Regions from separate parts of the Homo sapiens genome. Here region 1 is linked to region 2. The links are contacts of gene promoters, found by promoter capture Hi-C in blood cells and fetal thymus (Javierre and others, 2016). All regions are on one chromosome and are shown on one strand. Each heading gives the region's core, a stretch centred on a gene start or on the middle of the fragment in contact. The rest is flanking DNA. Distances are from core to core; before and after follow the strand shown.

What was found. The method cuts DNA at HindIII sites, captures the fragments that hold promoters and counts their contacts. A CHiCAGO score of 5 or more calls a contact.
Region 1: a contact is called between the fragment with the promoter of PSD4 here and the fragment with the promoter of IL1F10 in region 2, in 6 of 17 cell types (M1 macrophages, M0 macrophages, M2 macrophages and 3 more). The highest score is 9.0, in M1 macrophages.

The regions. Positions count from the first base shown.
Region 1 is chr2:113,171,792-113,177,926 of GRCh38, reverse strand. PSD4 (pleckstrin and Sec7 domain containing 4) reads right to left here and starts at 3,956. Exons shown (of 17, transcript NM_012455.3): 1 at 3,873-3,956. It overlaps LOC124907872 (a long non-coding RNA gene), which reads left to right and starts at 2,159. Exons shown (of 2, transcript XR_007087197.1): 1 at 2,159-2,657; 2 at 5,902-6,135. RefSeq lists enhancers at 3,384-3,473, 4,094-4,263, 4,314-4,383, 4,613-5,113, 5,114-5,614. The HindIII fragment of the contact is 16,060 bases long and covers 1-6,135 here.
Region 2 is chr2:113,063,708-113,069,378 of GRCh38, reverse strand. IL1F10 (interleukin 1 family member 10) reads right to left here and starts at 1,409. Exons shown (of 5, transcript NM_173161.3): 1 at 1,363-1,409. It overlaps IL36RN (interleukin 36 receptor antagonist), which reads right to left. Exons shown (of 5, transcript NM_012275.3): 5 at 4,635-5,671. The HindIII fragment of the contact is 1,248 bases long and covers 1,062-2,309 here.

The DNA of each region.
Region 1 (6,135 bases), core at 2,707-5,206, 110 kb before region 2:
TTTTTAAACCAATTAAACTCAATGTGACTATACTCCACCCCTCGCTTTTACTTTCTGAGCGTTTATCCCGGTGTGTAGTTGCCAGTGTGTTTACCCGCGTGGTTCTAGTTTGCCTAGAAGGTAAGCACCAAGATGGCAGGTTCTTTATGTTTCCTGTTCGCCACTGTGTCTCAGTATGAAAATATTGAATGGCATAGTCACATTATGTAACTGATTTGTCAACCACTCCGACCCACAAGGTCTGGGGGCATACTTTAGTTCAACTGGATTTGAAATTTAAAGATCAGCATTGACTTGAGGGGTTTAGTTCAAGTGGATTAGAAACTTAAAGGTTAGCGTTGACGTAAGAGGTTCAGGCCCCCCTGTGACTTGAGCTGGTGTGCGAACCCAGGTTACAGCTCTCTTAAGCATCATTCTCTCCTCCTGCCCCACTGATCAATTCTCTTGGACATTCCTGAATTCACTTGAGTCACTCAAACTCCTGTACAGCGCCTCCTTGACTGAGAGTCGGCGTTGTAGAACATTTGTGAAAATAAGAGAGGGGATGGCTAGATGAATGGACAGACAAATGGAGAGACACACTGATGGGATGGATCCTCAGAACTCTCCCTCCACAACAACCAGGCCAGAAGACGGGGAAGACCGAGGCTTGGAGAAGAGAATTAGCATCATTATAATATGAAGGCTTCCCCACGGGGGCCAGTCTGCCCATGACCAATCACCTCATCCTCCCCTCTCCAGGAAGTCCAGTGCTCCAAGGGCAGTGCTCCCCCAGAGGTAGGTTCCTACCAGGTCAGCAGCCAAAATGTCCCTGTGGGTCTTGGCTCCCAGGCAGCAACCCGAACAGAAAGGAGGACCCATTCAATTGTCTTGTTTGTGCTCTCCATTTGTGCAGGGGGCACTGTGTAACTGTGTGTTTAAAAGATGTCTTCCTTCTGTTTTTTAATTGCTCTTGCCTGAATGGAAAGGTAGGATGACCTAAAAGGTGAAGTCACCTCCTAAGGCCAAAAAGGCAGTCCTACCGGTCACCCAGGTGAGGGCGGTCTGATCTCAGAAGGGTGGAGGATGGAACTAGCCTTTGATCCCTGAGGTAGGATGGCACCCTCTAGGCAGAGGCAGGCCAGAAACTGGGCAGCAGAGCCCAGGTCTTACGCATCTAAAATTTTCTTGGTTTACTTGTGTTTTTCCACCCCTGGTGTTTAGCAAAATCTCTCTTGAAATCTCCTGTCTGTTATCCCAACCAGAACGAAAGCAGAAGGAAAGGAATTCGCAGCAAAGGAATCGCCACCTGTCACATCAGTTGAGTTCTGTTACCTCTACATTAAAGTGGCCCTTCAGTTTTTCTGAGCTCTGAGGTGGCTCTGAAAGTTTAAGGAGGGTTCAGAGGGGAGGGAGCCGAGGTGGGGAAGAGAGAGCACTGCTCCACTCTGCTGCCAACCAGCCACTCTTCTTGAGCACAGCTGACTACATTTCAGAGAATCTTCACCACGGTGGGGAGGGGGTGTATGTTTCTCATGGAGAATACTGCAAGGGCTAAGCCTTATGTCCCTCTTGTGGGAGGTGAAACACACAGAAAGCAATGGCTGAGGGACTAGAAGGCAGAGTCCCTCCCACCTGCCCCACCCCCGGCTTCAAGGCAATTTCTTTTTGACCCAAGGGGGCAGGAAGGAACCCAGCTGACACCTGGCACCCGGACGGTGCTTTCTAACAGTGAGTTTGTTTTTCACCCTCAGCCTGGCATTGCAGCCTTGTACCCTGGCTGAAGAACGGGGAGACCGGGCACAGAGGCTGGGGTATGAGCCTGCCCTGAGTAGGAAGGTGATGGCCTTGGGTGCCCTGCACTGACCACCCTCCTTTGCCCACTTCAGGGTCATAGTGAAGAATGCAGAGCAGAATCCCATCCTAACTCTACAGCTGACAAGCCATGTGGCTCTGGGTGAAAAACTCCACCTGGTTCCTTTTCTGTAAAATAAGGAACCAAGACCCAATAAAGCTATACTTCACAGGTTTGTTGTAAAGTTGGAATGGGTCTGAGTGCTGGGCCTGGCCCTTGGTGGGTGCTCAGGAAATACCGTGTCCTGCTCAGTTTAATTTTGTTGTTTTGCTGTCCATTTAGAGAAGCCAAAATTAACAAAAACAAACAAATAGCCCTCCTGGTCAGGCTCAGCTCTCAGCCTCCTCAAGGAGTCAGCCCTGAACCTTCATCCGGAGGGTGCCTGTCTCTGTTTCCCTTTTTGAGCTTCCAGACTCAGCAAGCAAACGCTCCCTCCTTTTACCCTGGAAATGTTTTCCCTCCTATGGAAAAGGTATGAAGGCTTCTGGCCGGTCCAAGGACTTAGGAGGTGACCTGTCCTGTCCCTCTGCAGCCCGAGAAGCTGCCGAATTACAGATGTTGCTGCAGGCAGGAACCATGAGTGGAACTCCCTGGCCTGGAGCTGCAGGACAGAGGCCTCTGTCTGAACCTGGGGTCTGAAGCACCGTGAGAGAAATGACTCGAGAAGGCCCCACATCCTGCCCACACAGAAAGAGCCATCATGCAAATTTGCACGCACACACACACACACAGAGAGAGAGAGAGAGAGAGAAGACAGTGCTACTGAAGGCCTGTGGTGAGGCCAGCAGAGGCTCAGGAAGGGAGCAGAGGATGGCGGTCTGAGGTAGGCAGAGAGTATCCAGGGGAGAGATCACGGGGGTAGGGACAGAATGACAAAGGGGACCCAGTACAGCTGCTGCCTGGGGAGGACAAAGACCCCTAGGGGGCTGGGGCCAGGCTGGGCCTCTCCTCCCTGGGTCCTCTCACCCCACATCCCTCACCCCTTCTGTGGGTCTCTCCCCCTTCCCCAACAAAGAGCTCAGCAGCCTGTGTTCTGATCCCCATGCTAGGCGGTTCCTTGTCTGTAGGAGGAGGGGGCCACGGGATGCTCTAGAGTCCTAGGCAGCTGGGAGACAGGCCTGCTTGGGGACCACTTTTTAAAGCTGGTCCAAGGTCCAATGAACGGAGGAGTATTTATCATCAGCTAATGACAGGCCACCCTTCCCTGCATTCTAGCAGAGGAGTGACTTCAACTGTGGAATTTTAGGCCCTGGAATAAGGGGGGAATGGCAGTGTCAGGGGACTTTCCCTCCATGCAGCTACCTTCACTATAACAATAATGACTACAGTGGGCCTTAGTTTCCTACACAGGCACACTTTGAGAGTTCAGTGGTTCCTGTTGCCCATCAGGACAACAGGCCTAAGCCAGAGCTAAACCAGTAAGGAGGGTCCCCTTACCTCTCCTCGAGCTTCTCCAGGATGGTCCTGGAAGGCAAGATGAAGCTGGGAGCCCCCTGATGGCCAAGTTGACTCTGAGCTCCTGCAGCAACCACACCCAGAGCCACCCCCACCCCAAACCCAGGCCTTCCAGACTCCCTCTCTCCAGAGTCTAGGGTCGAGAATCACTTGGGACCTTTGGCCACAAAAGCCCCCACTGGGTACTCAGCCAGAGCAGTCACTGGGGACGCAGTGACACTCACAAGAGGATTAGCAAGGAGCTTCCTTCACCCTTCACTATTGCAGACCTCCAGAGGCTCTGCGGGGAGCCAGGGAAGGGAAACAACAGAGGTCCGTGGGGCCAGGGCAGGGAATCAGAGAAGGGTCAGATGAGGAGGGGTAGGCTGAGGGAGGAGGGGGACGGGACACAGAGCAGGAAGGGGGAAGGAGGGGCCTAGCCTAGCCCAGGCTCATGGCAGGTGCACACGGCACTGCCAGAGCCCTCGCCTCTCCCCTGCCCACCTGCCCCAGCCCCTGCCACAAGGACCCACATGTGACTCTCCACATTCCCTGCTCCCACAGGTTCCACCAGCCCCAACCTAGGCAGACCCACTTAGCTCACCTCCAAAGGACCCAAGAATGGATGGCTTGGCCTGGGCTCCCCAAGAGCACTTCCTGGCTCACAGTCGGCTTGCCCAGTGAATGTGGCTGTGACGGCTGGAGCTTCCGACTTCCGCTCCTCCTCACCACAACACACACCCCTCCTGCTCCCCGCCGCCTCCCCAGGGTTCCCTAGCTGCTCAACACCTCACACTTCCTGCCCACAAGATAAGAGCCTCTCTTCCTAGGCCCAGCGCCTGCAGCCCCTTTCCCCATGCCCCTGCTCCTTGGAGGCCCCCACCCTGCACACCAGCCTAGAAAGAACCTGCCATGGTGGAACTGGCCTCTCCCTGCCATGCAGGGGCCTGGGATTGAAAGGGGAAGGGGCCGAGGCCTGGTTGGTAAGCAGGCCCCACCTCCTTCCTCCCTGCGCTTCTGCCCCAGGTTCTCAGTCTTGCTCTGGCTCTTGGTCCCCTGCAGGGCACCCAGTGAGAGACAGGAGGGCCCTAAGTTGGGCAATTTCTGGTTTTAAAACAAATGACATTTCAATTTTTGTGTGACTATGTCTCATGTCACTGGTAATAATGCAAATGATACAATTGCCTTTTAGTTACAAAGTTTCTCCCAATAGTACCTCAATCCCTCCTCACACCTACTTTATGAAGCATTAATAACCCCATCATACAGATCCGGATCTGGAGGCAAGCTCAGAGATGCTAAGCCACTGCCCAGGGTTGCACAGCTGGAAAATTACAAAGCTGGGGTTAGAATACAGAGCCTGTGACTATATGAACCAAGGGACCTCCATTCCCCGTGGCTGAATTCCCAACACACGTCCTCAGGACACCGGCCGCAGTGTCCACAAGTGTAAGTGAGGCTGGTGGGGAGCGCAAACACCATGCCATTCTCCTCCCTCCACACAATCTACTTCCTCAACATCAATGACCGTCAACTTCTCTGCTGAGGCTCCACCACTCCCACCCTCCCTGAACTCTCGTCTTCATGATTCCAGCTGACCCAGAGACTCCCTCACTTGCATGTCCACACAGCAGTGGGGACCAGCCACCCTGACCCAGAGTTGAGAGGGTCGGGCTCTAGCTCACCTACAGCCGCACCCCTCCCTGCAGGGTACAGAGTCCACAGGAACATACCAACATGGAGCCCGTGCACCCTGCTTCTCCACCACACTCTGCGTGCCCCAGATCCCGAGACTCTCCACTTCTGGGGCCCAAATGGCCTCCTCCCCATGTGGGCACACAGCACCGCTGCCCTATGCAGCCTGAGACTGGGTGAAGCGCTGGCAAGAGTCCTGATAGCAGAGACGGGAGCAGGTAGAGAGAGCTCAAACCTTTGGGCAGGTCACCCACCCACATGCACGTGTGATACAGAGCAGGGTGGGGAAGAGAAAGGGAGGTGGAGCTGTGGCGTGGGCCAAAGGCTGGGGTGGGCTGTGCTGTGGCAGCAACATTCAGAGGCGGCTAAGAATCCTCCTTCAAACCTGGAGCTCCAGGCCATGATGAAAGTGGGAGGTAGGAGAATTAGGAGAATAGACACTTTTTTTTTTTTTGAGACCAAGTTTCGCTCTTGTTGCCCAGGCTGGAGTACAGTGATGCCATCTAGGCTCACCACAACCTCCACCTCCCAGGTTCAAGTGATTCTCCTGCCTCAGACTCCCAAGTAGCTGGGATTACAGGCATGCGCCACCACGCCCGACTAATTTTGTATTTTTAGTAGAGACGGGGTTTCTCCATGTTGGCGAGGCTGGTCTCGAACTCCCAACCTCAGGTGATCCGCCCGCCTCGGCCTCCCATAGTGCTAGATTACAGGCGTGAGCCACCGCACCCGGCAGGACACATTTTATATGACAGTTTGTGAGCTTTAGTCTTAACTTTCATGTATTTGGACATATCAGATGGGGTCCTCCACTCTCCACTTCCCAGGGCTGGCAAATGTTGGGGACATGCTTATCTCACCAGCACTTCAAACTCAATGTTTATAAGGCAAACCTGGTTCCTTCTCTTCTCCAAGCTCTTCTTCCTCATATATTTCAGGTTTTACAACTCTCTCTCTCCATCAAGCTGGGTAAGTCAGAAACCTGAAGTCACCAAGACCTAAATGCAAACCCTCCACTCTGGGCCCCAGCCGCTAGGGGTGTCTCCGGAACATGGCCAAGGCTCAAAGTCAGCACCTGCTCTGTGCAGGCTCTATGCTACAAGCCGCTGACCTATCAGGAATAAAACACATGACCCCTGTGGAAGCTGAAGCAACTCCATCTTGGAAGCTAA
Region 2 (5,671 bases), core at 160-2,659:
TATTCCCGGTTTTTCTGCCTTTCATTCATTCCAACCTATGTGAGGAATGTGGACCCACGTTCTAAAGATTTTTTTCACCACATCCCTGCCCAGCTCTAGAATCTACAGTGACTGACTGTTTTGTCACCGTCTGGCACTGATTTTCTTGTGTGATAGCATCTCACTTCTCCATGGACACTAAACCACACCTCCTGGCGACATAATTCCTTTCTTATCTTCTCAGTGGACGTACTCACAGGTGTCCCATTGTTCTCCCTGCCTCAAAAGTCATCCCTTCTCATTGTCATCCATTCAGATCTTTTGATATTAAGATCACTGGAGATAGTATCAGTATAGATGGGTTCAGTATCTAGTTCTATCAAATTAATTACCAGTGTAGAGTTACAGCTTAGACATACAGGGTTATGTCTTTTAACCTCCAACCCTCAGTTTCAGCACTATACATTCATGGGATTAGATTATGTGGTTATGAAGGTTCTTTCTAGGCCAAACTATTTATAATTCCATGACTCAGAGTTTAATGAATCTTTCCCTTACTATTGTAACTCTACTCTGAACTCCTATTAAATTTTACTGTATTATTTATTGTTGTACATAAAGATATTTGTTTCCCTTATAAAAGTTTATAAGATCTTGAAGTCATGAAGCATGGCTTACAGCTCACTTGAAGCTCTCTCCAACCACCCTAATTGAACTACCCTGGTCCTTGTGGCCAGGACATAGAAACACACAGAGCAGACTTTGAATAGAAAGGCTGAGTCCTAGACCTAGCTCTGCTACCAATTTATTTTGCCACCTTTTATCCCTGGGCCTTCAACTTATCAACATTGGATGGAAAGATTGAGTAAGGTATCTTTCAAAACTGTTTTAAGTTTCACAATAAAATTTTATGCAGAATTCTAATGATTGTAAAAAGGATAAAGGGCAGCTGCTTTGCTGACACAGGAAGCAATGGAGACTTTGGAACCCTGCTAGTATTTCTCTTGCCTACAAAGAAGACACTGAGGAGCTACCAAGGAGCACAAAAAAAAAAAAAACGAAAACAAAAAATCTCTTAAGCTTCCACCAAACACGGTTTGAATACCATTGGCCCAGATGGTTTCTTTTGAGATTACTTTCTAAAGTCAGTTGTTCTAAGTAGTTCAGAAATCTTGATTTGGCTTAACCTATTCCTTCTCCTCAAATCTCTTTATGTGCTCCTAAATGTTTTTGATGTCCCATCATGTCATATGAGGGGACTACCTTGTTACCTAGACAGCTTGCCAGGAGGAGTGAAGGGATAGAGGGCATACCAGAGATATTGACAGGAGAGAGTAGAAAAGAAAGAAAAGAGAGAGAGAATATTGCCTGTCCATCACTGACCTGCAGATCCTGAGTTCCTGGAACCCTGATCCCTGGAGACTCCAACTGATTTCTCCAGGGCATTGCGCTGTGTTTATACCGTCTGGTACAGGTGGGTCAGGCCTGCACCAATCTCTATAATTGGCTGCAGGACATGAAGGAAGAAGAGCCTGGGCATTTCACAATGTCTTTGGTACAGCATGAATAATAAGATGGTGGGAACATTAAGGAGCATTTGTTGAAGGGGGAGAGAGTCATCCATAAAGCCTTGGCAGAAATAAGGTATGGGGCCCCTGCTCTGTACTGACTGTCGTTGACTATGTTATTAGTGGGTTTGCAGCCAGATAAACAGTGCTGGGGTCAGACATCTTTGGTGCCCCGTGGGGCTCCATCCTAGGCTTGAAGAGGTGGTGAATACAAGAGAAAGTATGTCTGGCAAGCCCAAGGACAGAACAAATTCTGATGCCGGAATCCAGGCTGTGGCCAGACAGCCAGAATAAGAGAAGGGGCTGATAGCACTGTGAGTGTGACTCTGTTTGGAAAGACGAGAAGGGAGTCTCTGCTTTTCAGTGGGTTTAATTAGTTGGTACCAGCTTGATGGGACAGAACATCTAGGGAAACCCAACTGCAAAGATATTGACCTCAGATTCACCCTGAGACTGAGCAGACATCATGTGCCATGGACTGCTAGGAAATATGATAGTGTGAGTAGAGCACAGAGGAAAGAACACTCAGGTCTCTAATTGACATTACTTGACTCAGTCCATCCATCCATCCATCCACCCGGCCACCCATCTGTCCATCTATCTACCCATCTGTCCATTCTTCCATCCATCCATCATCCATCCAACCATCCATCCACCCATGTGCCCATCCATCCACCCTTCTGTCCACCCTTTCATCCATCCATTCATCCATCCATCCATCCATCCATCCATCCATCCCTCCATTACAAGCGTGGAGAAGCTTAGGTGTAATGTTCTCTGGAAACTAACAACCTTATTATAATTCTCCCTCTTTGGTCATTTGCAAAGTTCCACCAAGGGCTTCTTGAGGAAGTGGGATAGGTGGGTCTAAGACTCAGATGCCTGCAGGATGAGAAATGAGAAAAGATGGGCAGAAATGGGACCAGATTTCTGCTTTCTAAGGCCAGTGATCATTCTTCTTCCACTCTCCCAATCTCTCACCCTTCTATGGGAAGGCTTAAAGCATGAGTTACTATGTCAGGCAACCAATGAGTGTTTACCCAGCATTTACACTGCTGTGTGACACAGACATTCAATACACAGTCCTTGTTGTTAAGTAGTTTCACAGTCTAGCTGAGGAACTAAGTCATAAACACTTGAAAAGATAATTAAGAAGACCAGACTCTCTAAGCTGTGGGCCAAGGACATGTTGGAAACAATAGTGGCAGATAAGCTCCTTGGGCAAAAAAAAAATCTTAGAATTGAAAGGACTTTAGGCCAGGCATGGTGGCTCATGCCTGTATCCCAACACTTTGGGAGGCTAAGGCAGGCAGATCCCTTGAGGTCAGGAGTTCAAACCAGCCTGGCCAACATGGTGAAACCTCGTGTCTACTAAAAATAGAAAAATTAGCCAGGCATGGTGGCATGCACCTGTAGGCCCAGCTACTTAGGAGGCTGAGGCAGGGGAATCACTGGAACCTGGGAGGCAGAGGTTGCAGTGGGCCAAGATGGCACCACTGTACTCCAGCCTGGGCGACAGAGTGAAACTCCATCTCATAGACATGGAATCATAGTTTCCCTCCAATTGGAGAAATCTGTGCTATGGCATCCCTGAGAAATTGGTTAATTAGGCTCTGCCTTAACATCTCCAGGGTCAGGGACCACACAACCTCTTGAAGAAACCCTATCAATGTTTGTGGTCCTTGTGGTTAAAATATGGGGGTCATATAGGAAAAACAGCCTCCACATAATTTGCACCCATTGGTTCTGCTTGTGTGTTCTGGAATTACACAGAACAAGCACATTCTTCTACTTGGCAAGCCTTTAAGTGCTTGAAGAGGGCTCCCTGTGCATTGCTTTTTTCAGGATAATACCTCCCACATCGTAGCCTCTTCCCTACAGCCTGCCCTTGGAACATTCTCTGTTCCTCGATGTCTGCAATTTGTACAAACCCCACATGATGTGAGTATTGCATCTCTGTAAATACAGGTCCAGGCCAGTGATTTATACCAAAATTGCAGAAATCTAAAGCCACTAACTCTTTTTCACTTGTAGAGTCATGATGTCCAGCCTGTACATTCCTGAAGGAGGCATTTTATATTCCTTCTTTTACTACTGACTTGTGTCGGCTCATCATGGCTAAAGCTCTTCTGAGTTCTGTCATCCTACAAATGAGGAAGCAACAAATTCAGGCTGGAGAAACCTTCAAGAATGAGGTGGAATTTAAGCTGCTCCCTTAGAGGTGGGCCTGTTTAGATGGGTGGAGGAGAAGGAGAGAATATTCCAGGGTGGAGAAATAGTTTCTACATTATATACTCATTGGGTTTCCATTATGTGCCAAGCATTATGCAAGGTGCTAAGAGACAAACTTATATGTCCCTAACCTTAAGGTCATCCCAGGGGCCACAGACTCCAAGTTAAGGTACTACAGTGCAGGGAGGTGCATACAAACATTGCCAGATCAGATAGCTGGGGGTGTCTCAACTCAGTAAAAGCTTCTTGGAGGAGGTGACATCTTAGCAGGGTATTGAAAGATGAGAGATTTATCTAGGCAGAGAGGATGGATGGAGGACCCAAAAGCAGAGGGAGCAGCACAAGACTGTGTCTGGGCCCATGGACAAAGAGAGTGTGAACAGGGTCTGAAACACAGCCTAGCATCCGGAGCTCATGTTCTTGGCAGCCCTGAGAGGCCTGGGGTAGGAGCTGTGCTGCCTGTTGCCTGAGGACTTCAGCTGAATCTGGGCTGGAGCTGTGAGGTCCATAGAGGCAGCCTTGTCTGTCCTGGCCACCTCCTTGCCAGTGCCTCAGTGGACTCTCAACCACCAAGCTGGTCCAACAGGTGAAGTGCAGGTGGAATACCTGGGGCTCAGATATGGGCTCCTCCTCTGGCTTCTGCTCCCATTCCCCAGGGTTTGGGTGGGGACACTGGAGTTCATTCCTGGCACATAGGACAAGAGGATCTCAATCTTGCAGAACCAGATGACTCAACAAATGCTGTATTATTAGCTTTTAAATAGAATATTTGGGTAAATGAAGGATAGTTGTTCATTGTGAGAAAGAAAATAAAAAATATTGGAGAAAATTGCAATAATAAAACAAATGCATTTGTTTCTCTTTCTCTGCATATTATTTATCTATTGCTGCATAACAAGTTAGACCAAAACTGAGCAACTTAAAACAACAAACATCGATTATCTCACAGAGTCTCTGCTTCTAGGTTCACTAATGTGGCTGTGGGCAGGAGACTTCATTTTTTACCACGTAAGTCTCTTTATAGGCCTGCTCATAGCATGGCAGCTAGCTTCCCCCAGAGCGAGTGAGCCAAGATAGATTGGGGGCGGTGGGTGGCAGAGAGAGAGGGCTCAAGTAGAAGCTGCAGTGTCTTTTATAACCTAATCTTGGAAGTGGCATGCCATCACTTCTGCCATATTCTATTGGTCACAAAGACAACTTTGGTACATTGTGGGAGGGGACACACACAGAATGTAAACACGAGGAGACAGGGATCATTTTAGCAGCTGTATTAGTTTCCTAGAGCTGCTGTAACCAATTATCCTTGGTGGCTTAAAACAGCCGAAATTTATTCTTTCTTCGTTCAGGAGGCTGGAAGTCTGAGATTAAGGTTTCAGCAGAGCCGTTATCCCTCTAAAGCCTCTAGGGAAGAATTCTTCTTTGCCTCTTCCAAGCTTCTGATGGTTGCCACAATCCTTGGTGTTTCTTAGCTTGTGGCTGCAAAACTCCGATCTCTGCCTTCATCTTTACATAGTCTTCCCCGCATCTCCTCTGTCTCTGTGTCCTCTCCTTTTCATACAAGGAAACCAGTCATATTGAATTTAGGTCTACCTTCATCCAGCATGACCTTGTCTTAACTAACTACATCTGCAGAGACCTTATCTCCAAATAAACTCACAGACTGAGATTCCAAGAAGGATGTGAATTTGAGGGGGACACAATTCAACCAGTACAGCAGCCTTCTTAGAGACTGGATCCAATGCCTTGGAATCCCAGGGGCTGTGATCCTTCTAGGAAAGAATTACCAGATGATTTTTGTTCTTTAAGTTCCTTACCCAGAGATTCCAGCCACACAAACTCAGCACAGCCTCCTCCTCAGTGGCTTTGCTGAGATCTGTTTCCTGATCACTACT